Linked DNA regions of Homo sapiens: all the other regions are linked to region 1. Evidence: promoter capture Hi-C in human tissues and cell types (Jung and others, 2019). All regions are on one chromosome and are shown on one strand. The core of a region is centred on a gene start or on the middle of the fragment in contact, and the rest is flanking DNA. Distances in the headings are between cores, read along the strand shown. Region 1 holds the start of CLIP3 (CAP-Gly domain containing linker protein 3). Region 2 holds the start of PRODH2 (proline dehydrogenase 2). Region 3 holds the start of LOC107985304 (a long non-coding RNA gene). Region 4 overlaps NPHS1 (NPHS1 adhesion molecule, nephrin).

What was found. The method cuts DNA at HindIII sites, captures the fragments that hold promoters and counts their contacts. A contact is called where the count stands out against the background at its distance.
Region 2: the fragment with the promoter of PRODH2 here is called in contact with the fragment with the promoter of CLIP3 in region 1 in 1 of the 25 tissues and cell types used here (spleen).
Region 3: a fragment that was not itself captured here is called in contact with the fragment with the promoter of CLIP3 in region 1 in 3 of the 25 tissues and cell types used here (dorsolateral prefrontal cortex, psoas muscle and stomach).
Region 4: a contact is called between a fragment that was not itself captured here and the fragment with the promoter of CLIP3 in region 1, in 4 of the 25 tissues and cell types used here (H1 embryonic stem cells, IMR-90 fibroblasts, lymphoblastoid cells and 1 more).

Annotation. Positions count from the first base shown.
Region 1 is chr19:36,030,995-36,034,677 of GRCh38, forward strand. CLIP3 (CAP-Gly domain containing linker protein 3) reads right to left here and starts at 1,879. Exons shown (of 14, transcript NM_015526.3): 1 at 1,730-1,879; 2 at 1,198-1,421. The coding sequence starts at 1,363. All of the region lies in intron 3 of LOC101927572 (a long non-coding RNA gene), which reads left to right. The HindIII fragment of the contact is 12,641 bases long and covers 1-3,683 here.
Region 2 is chr19:35,810,760-35,814,442 of GRCh38, forward strand. It overlaps PRODH2 (proline dehydrogenase 2), which reads right to left and starts at 2,086. Exons shown (of 10, transcript NM_021232.2): 1 at 1,873-2,086; 2 at 1,601-1,797; 3 at 1,375-1,513; 4 at 1,203-1,289. The coding sequence starts at 2,046. The HindIII fragment of the contact is 15,660 bases long and covers 1-3,683 here.
Region 3 is chr19:36,232,668-36,236,350 of GRCh38, forward strand. It overlaps ZNF146 (zinc finger protein 146), which reads left to right. Exons shown (of 4, transcript NM_007145.3): 4 at 2,992-3,683. It overlaps LOC107985304 (a long non-coding RNA gene), which reads right to left and starts at 3,085. Exons shown (of 2, transcript XR_001753933.3): 1 at 2,917-3,085. It also overlaps a transcript of ZNF565 not described here. RefSeq lists enhancers at 905-1,407, 1,408-1,909. The HindIII fragment of the contact is 4,389 bases long and covers 1-3,683 here.
Region 4 is chr19:35,833,211-35,836,893 of GRCh38, forward strand. NPHS1 (NPHS1 adhesion molecule, nephrin) reads right to left here. Exons shown (of 29, transcript NM_004646.4): 23 at 2,495-2,551. Among named protein-coding and RNA genes, the nearest start is that of NPHS1, 17 kb to the right of the region's middle. The HindIII fragment of the contact is 3,619 bases long and covers 114-3,683 here.

The DNA of each region.
Region 1 (3,683 bases), core at 629-3,128:
CTTTTTTTCTTTTCTTTTTTTTTTTTTTCTTTTTTTTTTTTTTTTTTGAGACAGTCTTACTCTGTCACTCAGGCTGGAGTGTAGTGGCTCGATCTTGGGCAACCTCTGCCTCCCAGGTTCAAGCGATTCTACTGCCTCAGCCTCCCGAGTGGCTGGGATTACAGACATATGCCACTATACCCAGCCAATTTTTGTATTTTTAGTAGAGATGGGGTTTCACCATGTTGGCCATGGCTGGTCTCAAACTCCTGACCTCAGGTGATCCGCTGGCCTCAGCCTCCCAAAGTGCTGGGATTACAGGCGTGAGACACCATGCCCAGCCCACCTTTTCTTTCTTTCATAGCACTTGCTCCAATCTGAATTTATCTGATTTCTGATTTATTTATCTGTTCACTTGTTTAGTCTCTCCTTCTCTCCTGCAAGGGAGGATCATGCCTGGATCACTTAGGATTAAATCTCCGGCACCCAGCATAAGGCTTGTCACAGAGTAGCAGCACTCGATAAATATCGCTCGGTCAATGATTAGACACTTTCAGTTTCTCCAAGAGGCCGCCCTCTCAGCTCCATACCCTCCTACCTCAGATCCTTTACCCAGCGGTTACCTCTCCTGGGAGCCCTTTCCCCTGACCCTTCTCTTAGTTAACCCCAACTCACCCTCCAGTCTTCTCAACTGTAACCTCCTCAGGGAAACAATGTCTTAAAAAACTCTTGCAGCAGCTTGTTTATGGTAAATACAATTTTCATAATGTCTTGTAATTACATATTTATATTACATTATATTTTTCTTTCTTGCATATAAACCTAAATGTGAAAAATTACATTATGGTTTAATACCTATTTGTGTGGCTGTTACTGAGGCCTGTGAGTTGTCTCAGGGCAAAGACTGGGTCTCTCTTGCCCCCTGCTGTGGCCCCAGCCCCTAGCATAAAGCCAGGTCCACAGCCGCTTTCAAAAAATGATTGTTGAATGACTAAATGATGGAATGATGTGTCATGAGTCAAAGACTAGGAGTATTACAATTCCATTCTCCAATGGGTGAATGAATGAATTAACGAGGGGTGCTCTGCAGCCAAGATTCCTCTGGACCACCTTCAAATTCCCCAGAATTCTCCCACCATCACCACCAGCAGAGCACAGCCCACCCTCCCCGGCCACCCAACGCTCCAGGCCAGATTCCAGGGTGGGGACAGTGGTTACCGTAGTCCTTAGGGAGGGGGGCAGGTGCCGAGGGGTGCACAACAGGCTTCTGCCGGCGCTCCTGGGTGGGGCTGGGGGCCTCGGGGACGGGTTCATCCTCCTCCTCCTCTTCTTCCTCCTCTCCTCGGGGTGGCGGGGCCATCGGGGCAGGATCTGTCTTAGTCATGGTCCTCGGTGGCCCTCGGGGGGCGGGTGCAGAGTTGGGGGCAGCCTTCAGGCAAATCCTGGAGGCAGAGGTCAGCTGGAGAGGGTGCCCGGCAGGCTCCAGGGTCCAAGCCCCTAGGAGCTTCCAGGGCCCCGGGTGGCCTCCGCGCAACTGGATCTTGGGCAACCATAGGGACCCCCGTTACCCATAGAGGGCCCCGGTGTGTGCGCCCAGCGCCTGCCACCTCCCCCAGGCCCAGCCCCCCATTCTTCTCCTCCCGCGTCAGGCCCCTCAGTCGCGGCTGCCCCCTCCCCGGGTTTGTTTATCTCGGGATTCAGGATGCTTCGCCCCTCCCCTTCTCCGCGGGCCGCCCCCTCCCCATCTTACCTCGGGCAGACAGCGCTGGGGACCAAAGTGGAGACTGGGGAGACTGTGGGAGCAATGGGGTGTCGGTGTCAGGGGACGTGATGGGGGAGGCAAGGGAGACAGAGAGAAGGGGACGAGGCCCAGACGCCGACAGGGGGTGGGGGCGGAGAGGGAGGGGCGCGACTGCGCATGCGCCTGCTGCCCCCCTACCGGCGGCGGGGGAGGAGGGACCAGGAGGAGGGACCGGGAGGCGCTCGCATTGATGGAGGGGCCAGAGGCGGCGACTGAAAGGGGAGAGCCTCCGGGCACTGGGAGAGGAAGAGATGGCTACGGAAAGGAGCGAGATGAGCAGATACAACGGCAAAAGAGAGGGCTGAGAGAGCGGACACAGATCTTCTCCATCCCCTTCCCCCACGCCTGCAAACCAGGCCGGTGAGGGCAGTGGTCTTGGGGCGTGGTGACGATGGGGACCCTCTAGGGGACCCTCTCTCTAGGACCCTAGACCGGACCCCTTCTCCAAGCTCACCATTCATAATGGGTGCCTCAGAGGGGTGATTTCCTAGAGACTCCTATCATGATCATCTCATCCTTACCATCATAATGCGAGGCTCACACACTGGGGCCCAGAGGTTAAGCAGCTTGCCCAAAAGTACATGAGTAGGTGATGGAGCGAACATTTGAAACCAGACAGTCTGTAAAGTCTGATTTTTATTTTTATTATTTCCTAGACAGGGTCTCACTCTGTCACCCAGGCTACTGTGCAGTGTTGTGATCTTGGCTCACTGCAGCGTCAAACTTCTGGGCTCAAGCCATCCTCCCACCTCAACCTCCCGAGTAGCCGAGACCACACGTGCATGCCACCATGTCTGGAGAATTTTTTTTGAGACAGGGTTTTGCCATGTTGCCCAGGCTGGTCTTGAACTCCTGACCTCAAGGGATCCTCCTGCCCCTGCCACCCAAAGCGCTGAGATTACAGGCACGAGTCACCATGCCCAGCTTTGATTCTTAATCACCATGCTACATGCCTGTAGCAGTGTCTGGGAAACAGATCTGCCGATTGACCCCTCCAACTCTCTCAGAACCTGTATCTTCCCCACGGAGGCCTCCTGAAGCCAGCCCAGGGTCCTGGCTCCATTGTCATGGCTTGGCTTCCCACCTGGAGCTGTAGCCTGCTCTGCCTCAAATCATCCCAGCCTGGATGGGGCTGGGTGACAGCCTTGAACACCTCATCCTTCTAATGCACAGGTCCAGTAGCTCCATCTCCAAAAGATTTCCAGGATCTCACTCTCCCCACCGCTACCCTGGGCCCTCATCTTGGTCCATCCTTCTTCTTCTGCCACCAGCACTACGGCAGCAGCCTCTTACCTGCTGTCCCCGTCCTCCTCCAACATGCAGCCACAGGGACCCATGAACACCTGTCACTTTGGAGCCCTCTTTCCCTCAGAGGGGTCTGCCTGCTGCACCTCACTCCAGGTAGAAGCCAAGGCTCTCAGCCATGGCCCACAAGGGCCTATGTGAACCTGCCCCATCATCTCTGCACTCACCTCCTCTCACCCTCTTTTGTTCACTCCACCCCAGCCACACTGGCCTCCTTGCTTCTCCCTACCCCAGGACCTTTGCACTGGCTCTTTTTTTTTTTTTTTTTTGAGATGGCAGTCTCACTGTTCCCCAGGCTGGAGTGGAGTGGCATGATCTCTGCTCACTGCAACCTCTGTCTTCCAGGTTCAAGTGATTCTCCTGCCTCAGCCTCCCGAGTAGCTGGGATTACAGGCCTGTGCCACCACACCCAGCTAATTTTTGTATTTTTAGTAGGGACGGGGTTTCGCCATGTTGGCCAGGCTGGTCTCAAACTCCTGACCTTAGGTTATCTGCCTGCCTCAGCTTCCCAAAGTGCTGGGACGACAGGCGTGAGCCACCGTGCCTGGCCTGCAACGGCTCTTTGTGATGCCCGGAATGCTCTTCCTCCAAATCCCTA
Region 2 (3,683 bases), core at 836-3,335, 220 kb before region 1:
ATCCATCCGCCTCAGCCTCCCAAAGTGCTGGGATTACAGGCGTGAGCCACTGCCCCCGGCCATGTTCTAAATCTTGATAGGGATTTGGATTGCTCAAGTGTGTGTATTGGTTAAGGTTCATCAAAGGGCACATTTACAATGTGTGTAGTTCATTGTTTTACCTTGAAAGAAAAAAAGTACTGCGAATAATTATTGGGCTCTAATTAATGAGCCCATTATTCATATCCTGAAGCATTTAGGGGGAAAACATGTCTGCAATTTACTTTGAAATGCACCAAAAAATAAGATGGATTGATGGATGGATAGAGGAATAGAGGGATAGATATGATTTAAAGTGAGTATAGTTAAAGGTGGCGGGGGCATGGATGTTCATGTACAATTCTTTTTACTTTTCTGTATATTTGAAAATTTTTATAATAGAATATTGGGGAAAATATGCCCCCCACGAATGGTATACACCTGGCAAAACAAAATCATAGAAACAAAAAGATATGCATTATACAAGACGGCAGGCTGGGTGTGGTGGCTCACACCTATAATCCCAGAACTTTGGGGGGCTGAGGCTGGGGGATTGCTTGAGGCCATGAGTTAGAGACCACCCTGTGCAATACAGTAAGACAAAGAGAAAGAGAGAGAGAGAGAGAGAGGAGGGAGGAGAGAGAAGGAAGGAAGGAAGGAATAAAGGAAGGAAGGAAGGAAGGGAGGGAGGGAGGGAGGGGAGAGAAGGAAAAAGAAAAGAAGGAAGGAAGGAGAGAGAGCAAAAGAGGAAGAGGAAGGAAGGAGAGAGAGAGAAAGAAAGAAAAAAAGATGGAGTAGGGTTGAAAGAGAATGTGGAGATAAAAAGGAATTAATGATTGAATGAACAAACTAAGACCCCATTGGCCTAATCAGAACTTACACCCAGCCAGCTCACACCCATGCAGCTGTGTTGACTGAGAACACACTGATGTACCTCCTTCTAATTGATAAACAGCTTCTATCCCAATCCCTCCTCTGAGAGCCTCCAGCCTCCAGGCTCCTCCCTGAGAACCCAGATGACCCTGATTCCATCCATTTCAACCATGCCTGGGAGCTACAGCTGCACTTCTGCTGGCTGTTCCAAGCCTGGAGGTGGCCGTAGCATTTTGAACATCTGGCGTGCGGTGTGGCCGCATCTAAGTCCAAGGCACTCTGTCCCCGACAGTCCCGCTTGAGATCCTTACCTGCCCAGAGTCCATAGCTTCAGCCAGCCTCTCGGGGCTCAGCTCCAAGGAGGCTCCTGGCCTTCTGACCCACGAGGCTAGCTCCTTCTGAAATGGGGTGGTAGGCGGGGTGGTGAGGGGAGCCCGATGGGCAGCCGCGCCCTCCCCGCACCCCCGTCTTTGCACTCCTTACACAGAGCCGAGTACTGGTCAGCGCCGTCACCTTCAGCTGCATGAGGCTGGCCTCAGCCAGGCTGGGGGGCTCCAGGAGGCCCCGTGACAGGTCCACACACCGCAGCATAGCACCGAGGTTCCCCTCATACCACGCCTCACTGCCCAGCCAGCAGGTGTCAGGGCCCGAACAGCAAAGCCCCTTCCTGCGTCCTCCCAGCCTCCCTGGGCCCTGGCTCCCTACTCACCCACTCTTGGCAGCAGAGTCCGGCTCCTCCTCAGTGGGCACTGCCAGCAGTGGTCGGAGGCTGAGGGTCCGCAGCTGCTGCACGCAGCCCTTCACCTCCTCTGCTGTCTCACCAGCCACAAACTGCCCATAGACGGATGCTCGGAGAAATGCGCCTGAGAGCCGGGAGCCCAGGAGTCGCCGAGACCAGGCCTGGAGCTGGGTGACAGGGAGCGAGGGCTCAGCGCCAGGCTATGAGGAGCCTCCAGGCTGGTCCTCAGGATCACTGCTCACCAACAGCCCGTGAGTGACGAGTGGGGGCCAGGCACACAGCCGGAGAACCAGCAAGGCCCGTGTCAGCTCTCCTGTGCCCTTAAGGTGGAAGGCCCCGCCATCAAAGCTCAGGGACTGCCAGCCCCTGGAGGGGGGACCAGCTTGGGAACAGAGCACGTAACAGGTCCGGAGCATCCTGGGTCCCTGGCTGCCTCCACACCAGGGAAGGTTCTCTGGAGGCAGCAAGTTCACCAACTGCCCCTTGCCCAGACCAGGGGCAGTGACTGATTAACTGGGCAAAGCCTCAGGATCACAGGCTCCTTGGGGGCAATTAATTATTAACAAATGGGGACAGAGTTCAGAGTAACGGAAACGGGAGGTGAACCCCAGTAACAGCCCCCAAGAATGCTCAGCACAACAGCCTGCACTTATTAGGTAACCACCATGTGCTGGGGAAAGCAGGGGCTCCGGAGCAAGGATCCCTGGGCTCAGGACACCGGGCTTTGTGATCCAGGACAGGCTACTTAATCACTTTTGTGGCAATTGCTTCCTCTTAAAATTGGAAACGCTGTAGTGTTATTGAATACATTTGAAAATACGGTTCTCACGTTTGTAATCCCAACACTTTGGGAGGCCAAGACCGAGGAGTTTGAGACTACCCTGGGCGACATAGTGAGACCCCATCTCTACAAAAAATACAAAAATTAACTGTGTGTGGTGGCACACACCTGTGGTCCTAGCTACTCAGGAGGCCGAGGAAGGTGGATCTCTTGAGCCTGGGAGGTCAAGGGTGCAGTGAGCTGTGATTGTGCCACTGCACTCCACCCTGGGTGACAAAGTGAGACTCTGTCGCCAAAAAAAGAAAAAAGAAAAGACAAATAACCTATATAACCCAGCTGTTCCATGCTAAGTACATATCCTAGAGACCTTAAACATGGACAGCAGGAAACATGTACAGGAAAGAATGTTCAGAGGAGCAGTGTCTGAACTACCCAAATGTCCATCAAAAGGAGAATGGATACATATATGGTGGTGTAGTTATGCAATGGAATACTATACAGTAATGAAAAAGAATGGATACTGATACACACAACTGTGTGGCTGAATCTCACAATGTCAAGTGAAAGAAGCCAGACACCAAACAGGGCAAGCTGTATTATTCTTTTTTTTTTTTTTTTTTTTTTTTTTTTGAGACACAGTTTCACTCTTGTTGCCCAGGCTAGAGTGCAATGGCACAATCTCAGCTCACTGCAACCTTCACCCCCCGGGTTCAAGCGATTCTCTTGCCTCAGCTTCCAGAGTAGCTGGGATTACAGGCATGTGCCACCACGCCCCACTAATTTTGTATTTTTAGTAGAGACAGGGTTTCTCCATGTTGGTCAGACTGGTCTTGAACTCCCGACCTCAGGTGATCTGCCCGCCTCAGCCTTCCAAAGTGCTGGGATTACAGGCATGAGCCACTGTGGCTGGTCTATACTTTTCAATAAATATAAAAGCAAGGAAAGTGAAACTGCAGTAAAATGTTGGGAATACATGCGTGGGTGGTCAAACTATGAGGACAAGAAAAGTAAGGACATGATTATCACAGAAGTCAGAGAGGTGGTTGATTGTGGGGGATGGGAGGAATTGTAATGGGGTAGAGGGATATGGGGACTTCTATATCCTATTTTCTTTTTTTAAAATGGAAACCATATGTCTTAATTTTTTTGTTTTGTTTTGTTAGACGTATCCTTGCTCTGTCACCCAGGCTGGAGTGCAGTGGTGCGATCTCGGCTCACTGCAACCCCCATCTCCCGGGTTCAAGTGATTCTTCTGCTTTAGCCCCCTGAGTA
Region 3 (3,683 bases), core at 861-3,360, 200 kb after region 1:
GTGCGATCTGGGCTCACTACAACCTCCACCTCCCGGTTTCAAGTGATTCTCCTGTCTCAGCCTCTTGAGTAGCTGGGATTATAGGAGCATGCCACCACATCCAGCTAATTTTTTGTATTTTTAGTAGAGACGAGGTTTCACCATGTTGGCCAGGCTTGTCTTAAACTCTTGGCCCCACAGTGCTGGGATTACAGGTGTGAGTCACCATGCCCAGCCATTCAATTATTTTTTCATATGAACATTTTTTAAATATAACAAATGCTGAAGGAATAGTTAAAGAATCTCTTATGTACCCCCCATGTGGATTGAATAATTAATATTTTGCCACGCTTTTGTATGTCCGTATCCATGTGTTTATTTTGTGTGCTGAGGCATCATGATGTTTTACTTCTAAAAAATTAAATATGTATTTTCTACCAAGAAAAGCAGCTCCTGGCCAGGCGTGGTGGCTCACGCCTGTAGTGCCAGCACTTGGGAGGCAGATACGGGCAGATCACCAGATGTCAGGAGTTCCAGACCAGCCTGGCCAACATAGTGAAATCCTGTCTCTACTAAAAATACAAAAATTAGGCGTGGTGATGCATGCCTGTAATCCCAGCTACTTGGGAGGTTGAGGCTTCAAGAATCACTTGAAGCCAGGAGGCCGAGGTTGCAGTGAGTCGAGATCGCACCACTGCACACCAGCCTGAAGGGGTGGGTTTCCCCTCCACAGCTGTGGGCGTTTCTCGTCAGGTGGAAGGACTGACTTGGAAAAGAAAGAGACACAGAAACAAAGTATAGAGAAAGAAAAATGGGCCCAGGGGACCGGCGTTAGGGAGGACCTGCATACGGAGGACCTCTCAAGAGGACCGGCCTCTTGAGTTCCCTTAGTATTTATTGATCATTATCGGGCGTTTCTCGGAGAGGGGGATGTGGCAGGACAATAGGGTAATAGTGGAGAGAAGGTCAGCAGGAAAACGTGAACAAATGTCTCTGCATCATAAACAAGGTAAAGAAAAAAGTGCTGTGCTTTTGATGTGCATATACATAAACATCTCAATGCCTTAAAGAGCAGTGTTGCTGCCAGCATGTCCCACCTCCAGCCCTAAGGCGGTTTTCCCCTATCTCAGTAGATGGAATATACAATCCAGCTTTACACGGAGACATTCCATTGCCCAGGGAAGAGCAGGAGACAGATGCCTTCCTCTTATCTCAACTGCAAAGAGGTCTTCCTTTTTTACTAATCCTCCTCAGCACAGACCCTTTACGGGTGTCGGACTGGGGGACGGTCAGGTCTTTCCCTTCCCGCGGGGCCATATTTCAGACTATCACATGGGGAGAAACCTTGGACAATACCTGGCTTTCCTAGGCAGAGGTCCCTGCGGCCTTCTGTAGTGTGTTGTGTCTCTGGGTACTTGAGATTAGGGAGTGGTGATGACTCTTAAGGAGCATGCTGCCTTCAAGCATTTGTTTAACAAAGCACATCCTGCACAGCCCTTAATCCATTTAACGCTGAGTTGACACAGCACATGTTTCAGTGAGCACAGGGTTGGGGGTAGGGTTACAGATTAACAGCATCTCAAGGCAGAATAATTTTTCTTAGTACAGAACAAAATGGAGTCTCTTATGTCTACTTCTTTCTACACAGACACAGTAACAGTCTGATCTCTCTTTCTTTTCCCCACACAGCCTGGGCGACAGAGCAAGACTGTCTCAAAAAAAAAGGGAGCTCTCCCATATAACAAAATACCGTTTCACACCTTAGAAGATTAACCATGTTGTCCTAATATTAGACTACCCAGTCTATGTTCACATTTTTCCAATTGTCCCCAGAATGCCTTCCATAGTTTTTTAAAATTACAGAATGTAATCAGGGTTCAAGCTTTGCATCTGGTTGCTCGCCACCACGCCCGGCTAATTTTTTGTATTTTTAGTAGAGATGGGGTTTCACTGTGTTAGCCAGGATGGTCTTGATCTCCTGACCTCGTGATCCGCCCACCTCGGCCTCCCAACGTGCTGGGATTACAGGCGTGAGCCACTGCGCCCGGCCAGCCAGCATCTTTTGTCTTCAGCTGCAGAATGGTGCTGCAGGTCTTACCATATATGTGGGTTTAATCTCTGATTTCCGTATAGCAGCTCATTCCTGTCATCTCATTTGCTGAATGCCCCTGAGCTCTGATTAAAATTCTGCAGGGGATAAACTTCCATTTCATATGAAGGTGTGTCCAGTCCTTTGTTCTCGTGACTGGACAGTGCATGTTCAACTGTTCCTTACACTTTTTTTTCAGCCACCATCCTTTATTCCTTTTGAATAAGGGAATTTGTACCATTTTCTCCTTATAATTTTAATGGGGTTTTGGGAGGAAGCACTTGTTGGTTGATCTATTCCTTTTCTTAGAAAGATGAGCATTATTTAGCCAGGTATGGTGGTGCACACCTGTAATCCCAGTTACTCAGGAGGCTGAGGCTAGAGAATTGCTTGAACCCAGGAGGCGGAGGCTGCAGTGAGCCGAGATCGCACCACTGCACTCCAGCCTGGATAACGAGCGAAATTCCGTCTCAAAAAAAAAAAAAGAAGAAAGAAAGATGAACATTATTTTTCTTCCTTAGCATCCCAGGTAGACTTTCTAATTTTCATCTTTTTCTTCTATTTGGCAATTCTTCATTATTTGTTATACAACTTGCTAAATTCTGAAATGGAAAGGTTATTTTTCAAGAGTACTTTCAGCTTTGTGGACCCATGAATGTTAATTTTCTACCTAGATCACCTCAAGTAGGGTTCCCTTCTCATAATTTAGTTGGAAGCATTAATAATATAGATTATTTTCATATTGGGAGATGGGCTACCAGAGTTAATCTCAAAAAATTTTATTGCTAGTAATGGGAAAATTAACAAATAAAAGTGATAGTAATATAAAGGTAAAATGAAGGGCTTACCATATGGCAGCCATGGTTCTGGGCACTTTATGAATTTAACTCCTTTGTGCTATGGTTCTTTGTACTCCATTTTAGAAGAAGCCTGAGAAGATGATGCACAGATAGAGAGGCACCAGGACTTGAGAGGCACCAGGACTTGGGAGGCATGTTGATCCATCTCCAGGAAAGACTGAGAAAAAGAGCGTTGAATATAAGAAAAAATACTTCCTCTGTTCTCAGATCGTATTTGTTTTAAGGCCACACCTTTTTGAAGTTTTCAGTTTGAAACACAACCTGGACTGAAATCATGAGGGAGGTTGTGTAGGAAAGAATCATCAAGGGACTTAGTTGGGAGCTTCTCTACCACAGCTTACTCCTTATGGTATTAACCCCCTTTAAGTGTAAATGTCTTTGGTTTAAAACGTTTGTACCTCATCTGTTACCAGAGTGTTCATACTGGAGAGAAACCCTATGAATTTACTGAATGTGGGGGAACTGTTACTCATATGTTGCATTTCGTCGAACGTGCAAGTCATGCTGAAGAGAAACCCTGTGCTTCTAAGGAGTATTGACAAGCCCTTAGCTAGATGACAATCTCATTGAGAAGCAGAAAATTCATGCTGGAGAGAAACTAGTGAAGGTAGCAATACTTCATTGAATATTAGAAAATTTTTCTAGAGAGAAAGCATTGAATATACTGAGTATGATAACATTTCCTCTCAAACCTTATCCCTTACTCTGCATTTGGGAGATCATACACAGAGAAGCCTTATAAATGTAAGAGATGT
Region 4 (3,683 bases), core at 673-3,172, 200 kb before region 1:
ACCAACTTCCATCCCAGCCAATATCAGGCTGACTTGGCTGCTATATCCCTGAGGACAAGGCTGAACCCCTCTAAGTAGGCATCTGTTGGGCGGGCAATCTCCCCTGTCTTCTACTAATAGCACTTTTTTCCCCTGGGGAGAACAGCCACTCCCCAATCTCAGTCTTGGGTTCAGGCAGGACTCCACAGTGGGCACATGGCCCGGCCTGGAAAATAAGAGTCTCCATTCCTCTCTCCACAGTGATTGTTTAGACACAGGCATTTGACCCAACGTGTGTTTTTAACAAAACATTTAGGACAATTCTACTAGCTGTCAAGAAGATGGAGGTGGAGGAGGGCTTCTCTGCCCCTCTGATTGAAGAAACTCAGAAAGAAGCCACCACAGATGAAGGCAAAGTTGAGAGAGGGTGAGAAACAGATCGCTGGTGAGATTTTTGAGCACCTGAAAGTGGCCACACTTGGAATTTTTTATTTCATATACCAAGACTTTTTCTTTTTTTTCTTGAGACAGGGTCTCAACTCTGTTGCCCAGGCTGCAGTGCAGTGGCGTGAGCTCGGCTCATTGAAGGCTCAACCTCCTGGGCTCAATCAATCCTCCCGCATCAGCCTCCTGAGTAGCTGGGACTGCAGGCATGCACTGCCATGCCTGGCTAATTTTTTTTGTTTTTGTTTTATAGAGATGGGGTTTCACCATGTTGCCCAGGTTTGTCTCCAACGTCTGGGCTCAAGTGATCTACCTGCCTCAGCCTCCCAAAGTTCCGGGATTATAGGCATGAGCCACTGTGCCCAGCCAAGCCATTCTTTTTCGTGTTGACAAAACAGCTGCATTTCTGTCACTTGCAACCTTTTTCTCGGGCTCTGAAGGGGATTTTTTTGCCAAATGGTTGCAATCATCTCCCAGTAGTCACATCCTTGAGTGCGGGGCCTTTCCACACTGACTCTGTGTTGAGCCATGTGACTTGCTTTGGCCAATGAGACACAACTATGACGGAATCAGCTAGTAAATTGCTGCTTTTGACCCCCGTGACCACCTCCATGTGAAAAAGTCAAGAAGAGACACGCGCCCAGTTATCTCCATTGTTCCAACCAAGAGCCAGATGACTATCAGAAGTGTGGGAAGGGGGCAACCCTAGACCACCCAGTCCAGTGGAGCTGCCAGCTGACTGCAGAGATGATTTAAGCCAGCCCAGACCAGCACTGTTCCGCCAGACTCAGAATCATGAGGAAGAATGTTGCTATAAGCACCCATGTTTGGGGTGGTTCATTATACAGCAAAAGCTAACTGATGCAGGCTTCTTACAGGACATGGAGTGAGCTAATTCTTACGGAATTAAACTAAATTTGGAAGAGAAGAAAATTTATCACTCCAGGCAAGAGGAAGATCTAAGAAAAAAAAAATTGGCCAGATGCAGTGGCTCACGCCTGTAATCCCAGCACTTTGGGAGGCTGAGGTGGGTGAATCATGAGGTCAGGAGTTAAAGACCATCCTGGCTAACGCGGTGAAACCTCATCTCTACTAAAAATACAAAAAATTAGCTGGGCGTGTTGGCACGTGCCTGTAGTCCCAGCTACTCGGGAGGCTGAGGCAGGAGAGGAAGCCGGGAGGTGGAGATAGCAGTCAGCCGAGATCGCACCACTGCACTCCAGCCTGGGCAACAAACAGAGCAAGAATCCATCTCAAAAAATAAAAAAATAAAAAAAAAAAATGCCGAGTGCCGTAGCTCATGCCTGTTATCCCAGCACTTTGGGAAGCTGAGGCAGGCAGATCACTTGAGGTCGGGAGTTCGAGACCAGCCTGGCCAACATGGTGAAACCCCGTCCCTACTAAAAAAGTACAACAATTAGCCAGGTGTGGTGGCAGGTGCCTGTAATCCCAGCAACTCGGGAGGCTAAGGCAAAAGAATCGCTTGAACCTGGGAGGTGGAGGTTGCAGTGAGCCAAGATTTTGCCACTTCACTCCAGCCTGGGCAACAGAATGAGACTCTGTCTCAAAAAAAAAAAAAAAAAAAAGAAAGAAAGAAAGAAAAAAGAGGAAGCTCTAAGGAGTCTGCAAGTCTGCAATTCTGCAGGGACAGAACTAAGTCTTTTTTTTTTTTTTTTTTTTTTTTGAGATAGGGTCTCCCTCTGTTGCCAAGGCTGGAGTGCAGTGGCTCAGTCATAGCTCACTGCATCCTCCAACTCCTGGGCTTATGCAATCCTCCCACCTCAGCCTTCTGAGTAGTTGGGACTACAGGCACATGCCACTACACCCAGCTATTTTTTATTTTTGCAAAGATGGAGTCTTGCTATGTTGCCCAAGCTGGTCTCAAACTCCTGGGCTCAAGTGATCACATGCCTTGGCCTCCCAAAGTGTTGGGATTACAGGCGTGAGCGACTGAGCTTGGCCAGAACTAAGTCGTTAAGCAGCTGTGACTACAAGCAGAGGAGGTAGGGTCAGAGACCAGGAGGTTCCATTCTCAGGGGAGCCGGGAGGGATCAGGGGACTGAGGACTTGCCTGAAGGTGGCTCTGTGGGCAGCTGGTCTTCAGGTTCTCCAGAAGGCTGGTGGAGACCTGGGGGGTGGATATACAGATTGTGACTTAACACTAAGAATCTGAGATAAGCTTTAAATATTTCTCAGCCTCTTCTTAAGCCTATTAGATTCATGGGAACTGGTATATGACTGCTTAAGAATATTTCAAAGAGAGCTAGAAATTGCTGATAATAATGACAATACTATTAATAGCAATTCTAATGGTAACGCTAATGCTAAGAATAATTTGTTTTTTGAGACTGAACCTCTCTCTATTGCCCAGGCTGGAGTGCAGTGGCGCAATCTCAGCTCACTGAAACCTCTGCCTCCCGGGTTCAAGCAATTCTCCTGCCTCAGCCTCCCAAGTAGCTGGGACTACAGGCACCTGCCACTATGCCTGGCTAATTTTTTGTATTTTTAGTAGAGATGGGGTTTCACCATGTTGGCCAGGCTAGTCTCGAACTCCTGACCTCGTGATTCGCCCACCTCGGCCTTCCAGAGTGCTGGGATTACAGGCGTGAGCCACTGCGCCTGGCCATTTTTTTTTTTTTAAAGAGACAGGGTCTCACTCTGTCGCTCAGGCTGGAGTGCAGTGGTATGATCATAGCTCACTGCAGCCTCGACCTCCTGGGTTCAAGCTATCCTCCCGCCTCAGACTCCTGATTAGCTGGGACTACAGGCATGCATCACCATGCCTGGCCCAAAAATTAACTGTTGATGAGCACTTTCGGTGTGCAAGGTCCTTTTCACCCGAATTATCAATTTGTTGAGTTAACCAAAAAAGACTTTGGGCTCTCGATCCCTTAATAAAGGTACAAGTTCTAAAGCAAAGGAGGCAAGTGTCATACTTTATGTTTTAGTGTTCAAAGGGAAGACTGGAGTGGGGTGGGGGGAAGAGCAGAGAAGATTGTAGGGGTGAAAAAGTGTCCTTACTTCCATTGAGAAAAAGCCTGCTCTGTCAGGAAGAGGAAAACAGAAAGGAGAAGCTTGCGGCCAGGAGTGGTGGCACACGTCTGTAATCCCAGCACTTTGAGAGACTGAGGCAGGTGGATCACCTGAGGTTAGGACTTTGAGACCAGCCTGGCCAACATGGTGAAACCCTGTCTCTACTAAAAAATACAAAAATTAGCCAGGCGTGGTGGTATGCACCTGTAATCCCAGCTACTTGGAAG